Regions from separate parts of the Homo sapiens genome. Here regions 2 and 3 are each linked to region 1. Evidence: promoter capture Hi-C in human tissues and cell types (Jung and others, 2019). All regions are on one chromosome and are shown on one strand. The core of a region is centred on a gene start or on the middle of the fragment in contact, and the rest is flanking DNA. Distances in the headings are between cores, read along the strand shown. Region 1 holds the start of POC5 (POC5 centriolar protein). Region 2 overlaps SV2C (synaptic vesicle glycoprotein 2C). Region 3 overlaps SV2C (synaptic vesicle glycoprotein 2C).

Region 1 (3,338 bases), core at 575-3,074:
CTTGTCCTCTATAATAAGCATGAAAAAAAAGGGGGAGAACAAACATAATTTATGCCAAAGAAACTTCTGGTGCTCTTCTTACTTGTTTGTGTAAGTAGAAGTCTGGTTCTGCCAACATAAAAGTAAGTGAGACCCAGGTTATGTCATTTCTATCTACAGAAAAAGAAACCTTATACTGGAGGTAACAGAAGGGAGCCTGAAAACTCACCCAGATCTCAGTATCTGTTCTTCAGATTGCAGAACCCCAGTCTGGGCTACTTAGGTACCTTTGCCATCTGGGTCCTCATACCTCTAGCCTATCTGTTGCCAATGTAAGTTGAAAGACTATATGTTTGTGTGTTCGGTGTTTTAGATATATTAATTCCTTTAATCTCCTACCACCTTAGTATGTGAGTAGTATTATCCAAGGTGACAGCGAGTAGATGGTAAAGCTAGATTATAATTATGATCTGATTCTAAGGCCAATACTTCACCAGAAGGCTCTATCTTGAAGTCTGACACGTTTGAGATTAGTTAAAACTAGACTACCAATTTTGGTTTTTTCTTTGTTTTTTGAGACAGAGTCTCACTATCACCCAGGCAGGAGTGCAGTGGCGATATCTTGGCTCACTGCAACCTCTGCCTCCTGGGTTTAAGGGATTCTCCTGCCTCAGCCTTCGGAGTAGCTGGGACTACAGGCGTAAGCCACCACACCCGGCTAATTTTTGTATTTTTAGTAGAGATGGGGTTTCACCATGTTGGCCAGCCTGGTCTCGAACTCCTGACCGCAGGTGATCCGCCTGCCTCGTCCTCCCAAAGTGTTGGGATTACAGGCGTGAGCCAACGCGCCCAGCCTAGACTAGCAATTTCTCAAAGGGTGGTCTGCAGACTCCTGCATCAGAATCACTGGCAGTGTGTGTTAAAAATTCAGATTTCCTGACGGTGTCCATGACCGAAGGAATCAACACCTTCGGCCGGGCGTGGTGGCTCACGCCTGTAATCCCAGCACTTTGGGAGGCCGAGGTGGGCGGAACACCTGAGGTCAGGAGTTCGAGACCAGCCTGGCCAACATGGTGAAACTCCATCTCTACTAAAAATACAAAAATTAGCCAGGCGTGGTGGCGGTCGTCTGTAATCCCAGCTACTCGGGAGGCTGAGGCAGGAGAATCCCTTGAACCTGGGAGGCGGAGGTTGCAGTGAGCCGAGATAGTGCCACTGCACACCAGCCTGGACGGCAGAGCAAGACTCCATCTCAAAAAAAAAAAAAGCACCTCCAAGTGATTCTGTTGCAGGGGATCTGTGGATGATGCAGATTTTTTTTTTGTTTTTAATTTTTTATAGAGAAAGGGTCTCCCTATGTTCCCCAGACTAGTCTCGAACTCCCGGGCTCAAGCGATCCTCCCACTTCGGCCTCCCAAAGTGCCGGGATTACTGGCATGAACCACCACACCTGGCCCAGAATTTCGGATTGTTCTTATGCAGACGAAAGCATTAGGACTCATATCTAGGTTACCGGAATTGTTGAAAGCCAACAGCACACGGCATTAGCCAACTTCAGCCCTGCTCAACAGCCTCTATCCAAATCAGCTCCCGGAGCCGCTTAGCAGCCTGCAGCCGCTGAACAGAACTGAGCACGCGCAATATTTAATCCCCACGGGCGCTGGGTGGGGCTCCCTAGGACCCCGCCCCCTACCAACCTGCGGAGCCAGGGGGCGGGGCTCTCCAAAGTAATTCCGGCTTCTCCCGGCAGCGGCCCAAATCCCCGCCCCCAGCTCTCGGACCAATCAAACGGCAGATTGCTGAAACAAAGGACCAATGCCCAGGGCGGTCCTTAATTCCTCCCTGCAGTTTGAAACTGTCAGGTTGCCGTCTAGGTAGCGGTTGTGCTTGCTGAGGCTGCACTTGCTGACACTGCAGCTGCGACGCGGCTAAGAGGCGCAGAGCGAGGAGTCGGGATTTGGTCGCGAGCGGCGACGGTGGGTAGCAGCGCTCCGGGCAGATCCTGCGTCCCTGCATCCCTGGCGAAAGTAGTGGAGGGAGATTTAAAGTTCCTTGGCGCGTGTTTCCTCCCCCTGGGCTCTTCCCCAGACCGCGAGTGATTCAGCTGTTGTGCCGGAAGGTCCCAAAGTTTCCCCTCCGAGGCGTGCAGGAAGAGGAAGTGAGCAGGAGTGAGGGATGCTGAGCGATTACTGTCATCAGAGGTTCCGGTCACTTAAAACGTTGAGAAAAAATAACCATGTATAAAGCTCTGTTGTGCTTAAGTAAGATTTTTCTTAAAACAGGCTGGGTCGGAAGGTGATGGAAGAAAACTTATGGCCTTTTGCTTACTGCAATGGCTTTTCTCCTCTGCTTCTAGTCCCTGCTTTGGGGAGGGGCTGGCGCGCCCCTTTCCTTGAGTGCAGCTAGGCCTGGTGAAAGGCACAGGCGACATCACCCTGCTGCTAGTTTGCATGTTAATTCGCTCTTCCTTTGCCTCTTGGGGGTTCCATTTGAATTCCCAGACCCCTGTTTTGCTGTCAGCCAGATAATTACCAAGATGTTATTTTATGTTTCTGGCAACAGAGAAGCACACAAAAGTTTTGATCTTGTTTTCTGATACCTTGGATTAGAGACTACTGAAAATGTAGTGAACTAATGTGCGTCCGCCACCCATTAAAGCAGTTTTCATTTTTCTCCTTTGTTTCTGAACCTAGAAACAGTAAGGAAAATGCTACTGTTCTAGAGTTTCAAATAACTCATACCTTGTTGACATAAAGCAGGGCAGATGGAAGATAGCATATTTTCCAAGAGTGCGGTGGGTTTTTTTGTGTCTGCAGTGTGTCCATATTAAGAAACAATTTTTGAGATCTGACCATACTTACTAGCTCATTTTTAAATAATCAGCACCCCCCCCCCCCCACCCCTGTTACCTGCCTGGTCTCAAATCCTGAAGGAAGAAGTGAATAAAAATATAAATGGACCAAGTTATCACAGTGGTAGATTTGAAGTCAGTGAAGCAGCCATTCCTTGCTGCAGATACATGCACTTATTTTATCCTCCCTAATTGGCTTAACTAAAGACAGTCATGCTGAGATTTAGTTTACTTAACATGTGTATGCACAGTGATACTCACTGGAAAAAGTTGAACTTTCCTTTCCACAATTTAGTTCCAGCCTGTGTTTCCATTCTATTTTTGCACTTTTCCCTGTATCTTCCTTTTCTATTTCAATTTCCTCATCTCTCATTTATTTTTCAGCCCACTGTGACTAAGACCTGTAATTGTTTTACTTTCCAGTGAAATTGTTCAAGCAAACGTCTCAGCAACCTCCTAATCTCCAAATTCTATCCAATCCTCATGGTTCTTTGGCATCTAATTCTAT
Region 2 (3,338 bases), core at 385-2,884, 600 kb before region 1:
GCCCAGGATGGTCTCAAACTCCTGGACTCAAGTGATCCTCCTGCCTTGGCCTCCCAAAGTGCTGGGATTACAGGTGTGAGCCACCATTCCCAGCTGAAACTTAATTTTGTTCATGAGCCTGCATACACCACTGACACCATGAGAGAGTATGAATTTCCTTCTGACTTTATGCCAGTTTACTCTTTTTTGGCTGTCACTGAGTTAAAGGCACATCGAATACAGGGCAATTTTTGGATACCTTGTTTTTTTTTTCCCCCTAAGAGGGAAATGCATCTTATAAGGGGCAAAATGCAGCATTTAGCACACATCTTTCTTTGTTTGATTTGTAAATTTGTAAGTGTGGGTTTTTCTTTGACAAGTCATAACTACTCATCGCTACTTGTACTGTACCTAATGATAGTTGTTTCCATAACGTGTGGACTCTTCATAACCGAGATATTTATTGTGGTTATTATCCAACCATCCTCCTTTCTGCACCATGGGAAAGGAATAAACACTCCTCCCTGAGCTGCACAAATCCAGTCTGTGAGTTAGTGCACAGCCAGTGATTTTGTGGGTTACATCACACCTAATAAAGGGCAGTAAGCACGGATTTTCTTTTTGGCTAAGACACCTAGAAAGTAGAGTATGCAGGCTCCTGAAGTGAGGCAAAGTTGCCAACTGTTTGGAATGTGGGAAGAGTATGACAGAATCTCTGACTGAAAGAAACTTCTTGAGAAGAGGGTAAGCTAATTTCATATTCTTCCTCTTCTTTTTTTAAAGCAAGAGACTAGTAATGGCAGCAACCACTAAAAACATAAGGAGATTTAATATACTGATAACTACTTTCAAATGAAATTGCTTGAGCCTATATGTTGTGTACCAAAGAAGACTTAATTATACTAGAATGACCCCGTCCCCACCTCCCCCACCTCCATGGATATGCCATGAGGCTAAACTGTCTTTTTGCTGTTTTTTAGAAATATGAATAGATGTTTTTGAGCAGCTTTAGGTTTACAACAAAAAAAGTGAACAAAAAGTAGAGTTCTCTTATACCCTCAGTTTCCACTAGTAACTTCTTGCTTTGGTATGGTACATTTGTTACAACTGATGAGCCAATATTGACACGTTGTTATTAGCCAAAGTTCAATTACATTACATTGGTGTTGTACATTCTGTGGGTTTTGACACATGTATAATGACATGTATCCATCATTACAGTATCATGTAGAATAGCTTTACTGCCCTAAAAGTCCCATGCTCCATCTATTCATTCCTCTCTCCCCACAACCCTGAACAATCACCAATCTTTTTACTGTTTCCATAGTTCTGCCTTTTCCAGGATGTCACAGAGTTGAAACCTCACAGTATGTAGCTTTTTAAAGACTGACTTCTTTCACTTAAAAAAAAAAAAAAAAAAGGAAGACGAGACGAGGCTATTGCTATGTTGCCCAGGCTAGTGTTGAACTCCTGGGCTCAAGCAATCCTCCCACCTCAGCCTCCCAAAGTGCTGGGATTACAGGTATGAGCCACCGTGCCTGGCTTTTCACTTTGTTAAACTAACATTTTAGTTTCTAGATTCTAGTGTCATAAATGACCAGATATATGTTGTAGTAGTAAGATAAGCTGGATTCTTCCGGGGAAAATGGCCTGAGTGTATGTTGCTGATAAGAAAAAGGAAACCACTTTTCTGTCATGAAGAAGTCTCTCAATGCTGAAACTGCAGAGTAACCCAGATAGGATTTGCATCTAGGTTAAAATAACCGTATTTTCCCAAACGACGAACCTCTGGTATAACTCAGAATAGCGTATAAAATGTGGGCTGCTATCTCCTTGTATCACTGAAACTGTACTCGAGGAATGGATGACTTCCTGAGATTCCTGGGCAGACTAAAGGCAGATGCGTTAGGAGCATCTGGTATCTGAGGGTTTTGAAAAAGACGATCAAATCCTTCTTAAGAATCTCCATTTTCATTTACCAAGCAAAGGCAGTTCTTTAGATGAAAATCTGGTGTGGATGCAAAGCACACAGCCTCCGTAAATTAGTGTCGGCATTCAAGAAAACGTGACTACCCTTTCCTTGGAAAAGTAAATTCTTCTTTCAAATATTTGCAGCTGAAGCGTGTAATTTTTCTTTTCTTTTTTTCTTTTTTTTTGAGATGGAGTCTCGCTCTGTGGCCCAGGCTGGAGTGCAGTGGCGCGATCATGGCTCACTGCAGCCTCGACTTCCTGGGCTCAGATGATTTTCCCACCTCAGCCTTTTGGTAGCTGGGACTAAAAGCTTGCACTGCCGCACACGGGCAATTTTTTGTGTTTTTTTTTTTTGTAGAGATGCAGGTTTCACCATGTTGCCCAGGGTGTTCTTGAACTGCTGGGCCCAATTAATCTGCCTGCTTCGGCCTCCCAAAGGGCTGGGATTACAGGCGTGAGCCACCACGCCCAGCTGGGCATGATTTTTCAATGCATCAGAGACACAGCTGTATTAGAAAAACCATTCACAAAGTGATTCTCCCTTGGGGTTATCTGTTTATAAAATAAATAGGCTTTTAGTTCATTTACTCTCTGTTCTTACTTAAAGGAAACTGTATTGCTTCTGCAGACACCCAAAGTACGAGTCACCTTTGCTCATAAAGTCCTTTGAGGGTGGGGAGCTCAGAGCTTGCAGAACCCTGACTTGCCGACTTCTCAGCTGTAGAATGAGTTAATGCATTATTTTTCAGATCAAATATGTTTTCATGCCTTCTCTTAAACAACAAGCACTGAAGGGAAAGAATGAAATGATCTAGTGTCATTCTATTGCTCCATGCTTTGCTTCTCATCTCTTCAGCCAGAAGCCTTTGCTCTCAATTTGTACTCAATCTACTTATTTAAAATTTTTAAATGTAAATTATTTCCCCCAAAAGTACCCTGTGACTGCAGCTGCCTTGTTGCTCATTCCATTAAGGTGGCTCTCCTCCCTGCATCATAAACTTCCTTGGTCTGAGACACATGTGCTGGTATATGGAGCTGGTTTGCAGCAGCACTTAGACTCACCTGGTGGGGATGTGGCCACCTCTGCAGCTGGATGGTGGCTCCCTCTCTGGGGCCTTCACGATTTATTGGGTTCTAGTTTATTTATATTGTTTCATGCTGTTTTTTTTTTCTTTCTTTCTTTTTGAGATGGAGTCTCACTCTATTGCCCAGGCTGGAGTGCAGTGGCACGATCTCGGCTCACTGCAACCTCCGCCTCCCAGGTTCAAATGATTCTCTTGCCTCAGCCTCCCAAGTAGCTGGGATTACAGGTGCGCACCATCATGCCCAGCTAATTTTTGTGTTTTTAGTAGAGACGGGGTTTCACCATGTTGGCCAGGTTGGTCTCG
Region 3 (3,338 bases), core at 411-2,910, 560 kb before region 1:
AAATCCCACTCACGTAGGCCTGTTTTATTGTCTTGACAGCTCTTATCACTATCTGAAGTTGTCATATTCATGTGTTGTTTACATATTACCTGTCCCTCTCCCACCAAGAGAGCAGGAACCCTGCTTTTCCCACTCATCAAGACCTCCTAAGCAAGTGCTAGTCCATAGGAAGTGTTCTTTTAATGTTTGTTGAACACACACACACACACACAATGTGTACATGAGCATGGGCAAAATCACTGCAGGTTACAGGACCACAGACCCAGATTTTCTTTTGATTATTTTCTTTCTGAATCTACACTAAACAGCAAAATAACCTTGATTCACTTTTTCAAATTAAGTTTGTATTATCTTCATAGAGTAAAACTTTATTTGTTTTTAGTTATACAGTTCTATGAGCTTGACAAATGCAGAGTCATGTAACCACCATCATTATCAGGGCACAGAACAGTTTCATTACCTCAAAACATTCCCTCCTGCTGCCCCTTGAGAGTCACCTCTTCCTCCAGCCCTAACCCCTGGCAATCACTGATCTCTTGTCTGTCCCTATAGTTTTGTCTTTTCTAGAATATCATATAAATGGAATCATATTGTACATAGCTTTTGGAATCTGTTTTTTTTTTTTTTGAGACAGGTCTCCTAGGTCACCCAGGCTGGCGTGCAGTGGCGTGATCTCAGCACTGCAGCCTTGGCTTCCCAAGTGATTCTCCTGCCTCAGCCTCCCAAATGGCTGGGACCACGGGCAAGCGCCACCATGCCCGGCTAACTTTTTGTAGAGACGGAGTTTCACCATATTATCCAGACTGGTCTTGAACTCCTGGGCTCAAGCCATCCTTCTGCCTCGGCCTCTCAAAATGCTGAGGTTACAGGTGTGAGCCATTGTGCCCAGCCTTGGTCTGGTTCTTACACTTTGCGTTACAGTCGAGATTTATGCAAACTGTTGCACATACCTGTGGTTTGTTCTTTTTCATTGTGTTGTAGTATTCCGTTGTGTAAATATATCACATTTAGTTTATCCACTCACCAGTTGAAGGACACTTAGATTGTTTCCAGTTTTGGGTGATTATGAATAAAATTGCTATATACATTTCATACAGGTTTCTGTGTGCCCCCAAAATTTCCTTGGGTAAATATGTAGGAGTGGAATGGTCGAGTCACATAATAAGCTCATGTTTAGCTTTACAGCAGACTGCCAAACCATTTTGCACACTGGTTGTGCCATTTTGAATTCCCACCAGTAGTGTATGCAAGCTCTAGCTGCTTCGCATCTTTCCCTTCACTTGTTAGGTTTCTTTTCTTAAATTTTAGCCTTTCTTATAGGTATCTAGTGGTATCTCATCACAATTTTAATTTGTGTTTCCCTAATGCCTAGTGATATCTTCATTTACTTTTTGTTCATTCATTCCTACTTTAGTGCCTATATGTGCCTGTCATAATGCTGTGATATGGAGACTGATTCCCTGATCTCAAGGAAGTTATAATCCATTGAAAAAGGCAGATATGTTAACAGACAAGGCCAGATGTGTTGGCTCACACCTGTAATCCCAACCCTTTGGGAGGCCAAGGCAGCAGGACTGCTTGAGGACAGGATTTTGAGACCAGACTGGGTAACATAGCAAGGCTTCATCTCTAAAAAAAAAAGAAAAGAAAGAAAGGAAGAAAAAAGCTAGTTGTGGTGGTGCATACCTGTGGTCATAGCTACTAGGTGACAGAGTGAGATGCTGTCTCAAAAAAAAAAAAAAAAGAAAAAGAAAAGGCCAGGTACTGTAGCTCATGCCTGTAATTCCAGCACTTTGGGAGGCTGAAGTGGGTGGATCACCTGAGGTCAGGAGTTCGAGACCAGCCTGCACAAAGTGGCAAAACCTCGTCTCTACAAGAAATACAAAAGTTAGCCAGGCACATGCCTGTAGTCCCAGCTGCTTGGGAGGCTGAGGTGGGAGGATCACTTGAGCCCTGAGAGGGAGTCCTGGAAAGGGTGTTGGGTACTCCTCCTGCCTTGTGGCATGTCCCATAGCAGGGGGCAGGGTCAAAGGCTGATGGGTGATAACCTGTGGCTTGAATGAGAGATAGACACCATGAGGGCCTCAAGAAATGACCCTGCAAATGCTTTGTAAAACTATGATACCATTCTCTGGGTTAAACATAGATATAAGAACGAAGGTGTAAAACACTGACAACCATCACTACTCAGCCATCAATTCTCAGGACCTGCTTTTGAGCTCCATTTTAAGTGGCTTAAATTTGAATTTGAGAGCTACACAAAGCCTACACTACAAAATCAGAAAGTGGAGAGACAGCAACGTGGAATAAAGGACAGGAATGGGAAAACAAGCCACAATCAACTGGGAAAGTGGGTTGTTGCTTTTGGATACTTACCTGCAGTTAGTAAAATGGATTCTTTTAAATGAACCTTTTATATTGGCACCACACCTTTTTGTCTTCAAAATATGTCTTGTATGAGTGATGATTCTAATTATCCTTTGGACTTTGTTAAGATACTCAAATGTTAAGACATTCAAATGTCATACCGAGGAATTTATCTACAGATAATATAAGTTCCATGCAAGGAAGGATCTCAATTTTACAGAAAGCAGTTCTAGCACAGCACTAATCAGTGTGGAGCTAATAAAAGTATTATATGTCATGAATAATAATCAAAGCTTTTTACCAGCCTTAAGCTGATGTGCTCTGTGACCGCAGAAAACAGCTGCCTCCCCAGTTGCCTGACTGTCTGAAACCTTTCAAGGTGCCAAGGCAGAGGTATGTGACACACATACAAGGATGCTGGCTTTCATGTTCTTGTCTGGGCTCTGTCCCTGATCCCCTGGGGACTTGACACCTACTTTGCTGATCTATATTTGTTTTGTTTTTGTTTGTGTTCGTTTTTTTTTTTTTTGAGACAGACTTTCGCTCTGTTGCCCAGGCTGGAGTGCAGTGGCACGATCTTGGCTCACTGCAAGCTCTGCCTCCCGGGTTCACGCCATTCTCCTACCTCAGCCTCCCGAGTAGTTGGGACTACAGGCGCCCGCCACCATGCCCAGCTAATTTTTTGTATTTTTAGTAGAGATGGGGTTTCACCGTGTTAGCCAGGATGGTCTTGATCTCTTGACCTCGTGATCTGCCCGCCTCGGCCTCCCAAAGTGCGGGGATTACAGGCGTGAGCCACTGCACCTGGCCTACTGATCTGTATTTGACTGTCGGTTATGTGATATTATTAATGAAATAGTTTTTGGTAGGAATGCAGATTTTAGGTACAAGACACAAACCCAAGGTTCTAAACGAAAACATTAAGTATCATATGTGAGATCAATTTTTAAGCTAAGAAGTAAATCACCTGT

The links. Contacts are between HindIII fragments. The study calls those that stand out against the background at their distance.
Region 2: a contact is called between a fragment that was not itself captured here and the fragment with the promoter of POC5 in region 1, in 1 of the 25 tissues and cell types used here (spleen).
Region 3: a fragment that was not itself captured here is called in contact with the fragment with the promoter of POC5 in region 1 in 1 of the 25 tissues and cell types used here (lymphoblastoid cells).

Annotation. Positions count from the first base shown.
Region 1 is chr5:75,715,923-75,719,260 of GRCh38, reverse strand. POC5 (POC5 centriolar protein) reads left to right here and starts at 1,824. Exons shown (of 12, transcript NM_001099271.2): 1 at 1,824-1,955. LOC441087 (a long non-coding RNA gene) reads right to left here and starts at 1,829. Exons shown (of 3, transcript NR_149046.1): 1 at 1,677-1,829. RefSeq lists an enhancer at 2,119-2,428. The HindIII fragment of the contact is 10,988 bases long and covers 1-3,338 here.
Region 2 is chr5:76,318,215-76,321,552 of GRCh38, reverse strand. All of the region lies in intron 12 of SV2C (synaptic vesicle glycoprotein 2C), which reads right to left. Among named protein-coding and RNA genes, the nearest start is that of SV2C-AS2, 8.3 kb to the right of the region's middle. RefSeq lists a cis regulatory region at 1,634-1,651 and an enhancer at 1,570-1,714. The HindIII fragment of the contact is 6,535 bases long and covers 1-3,338 here.
Region 3 is chr5:76,275,045-76,278,382 of GRCh38, reverse strand. All of the region lies in intron 4 of SV2C (synaptic vesicle glycoprotein 2C), which reads right to left. Among named protein-coding and RNA genes, the nearest start is that of SV2C-AS2, 35 kb to the left of the region's middle. The HindIII fragment of the contact is 4,277 bases long and covers 1-3,338 here.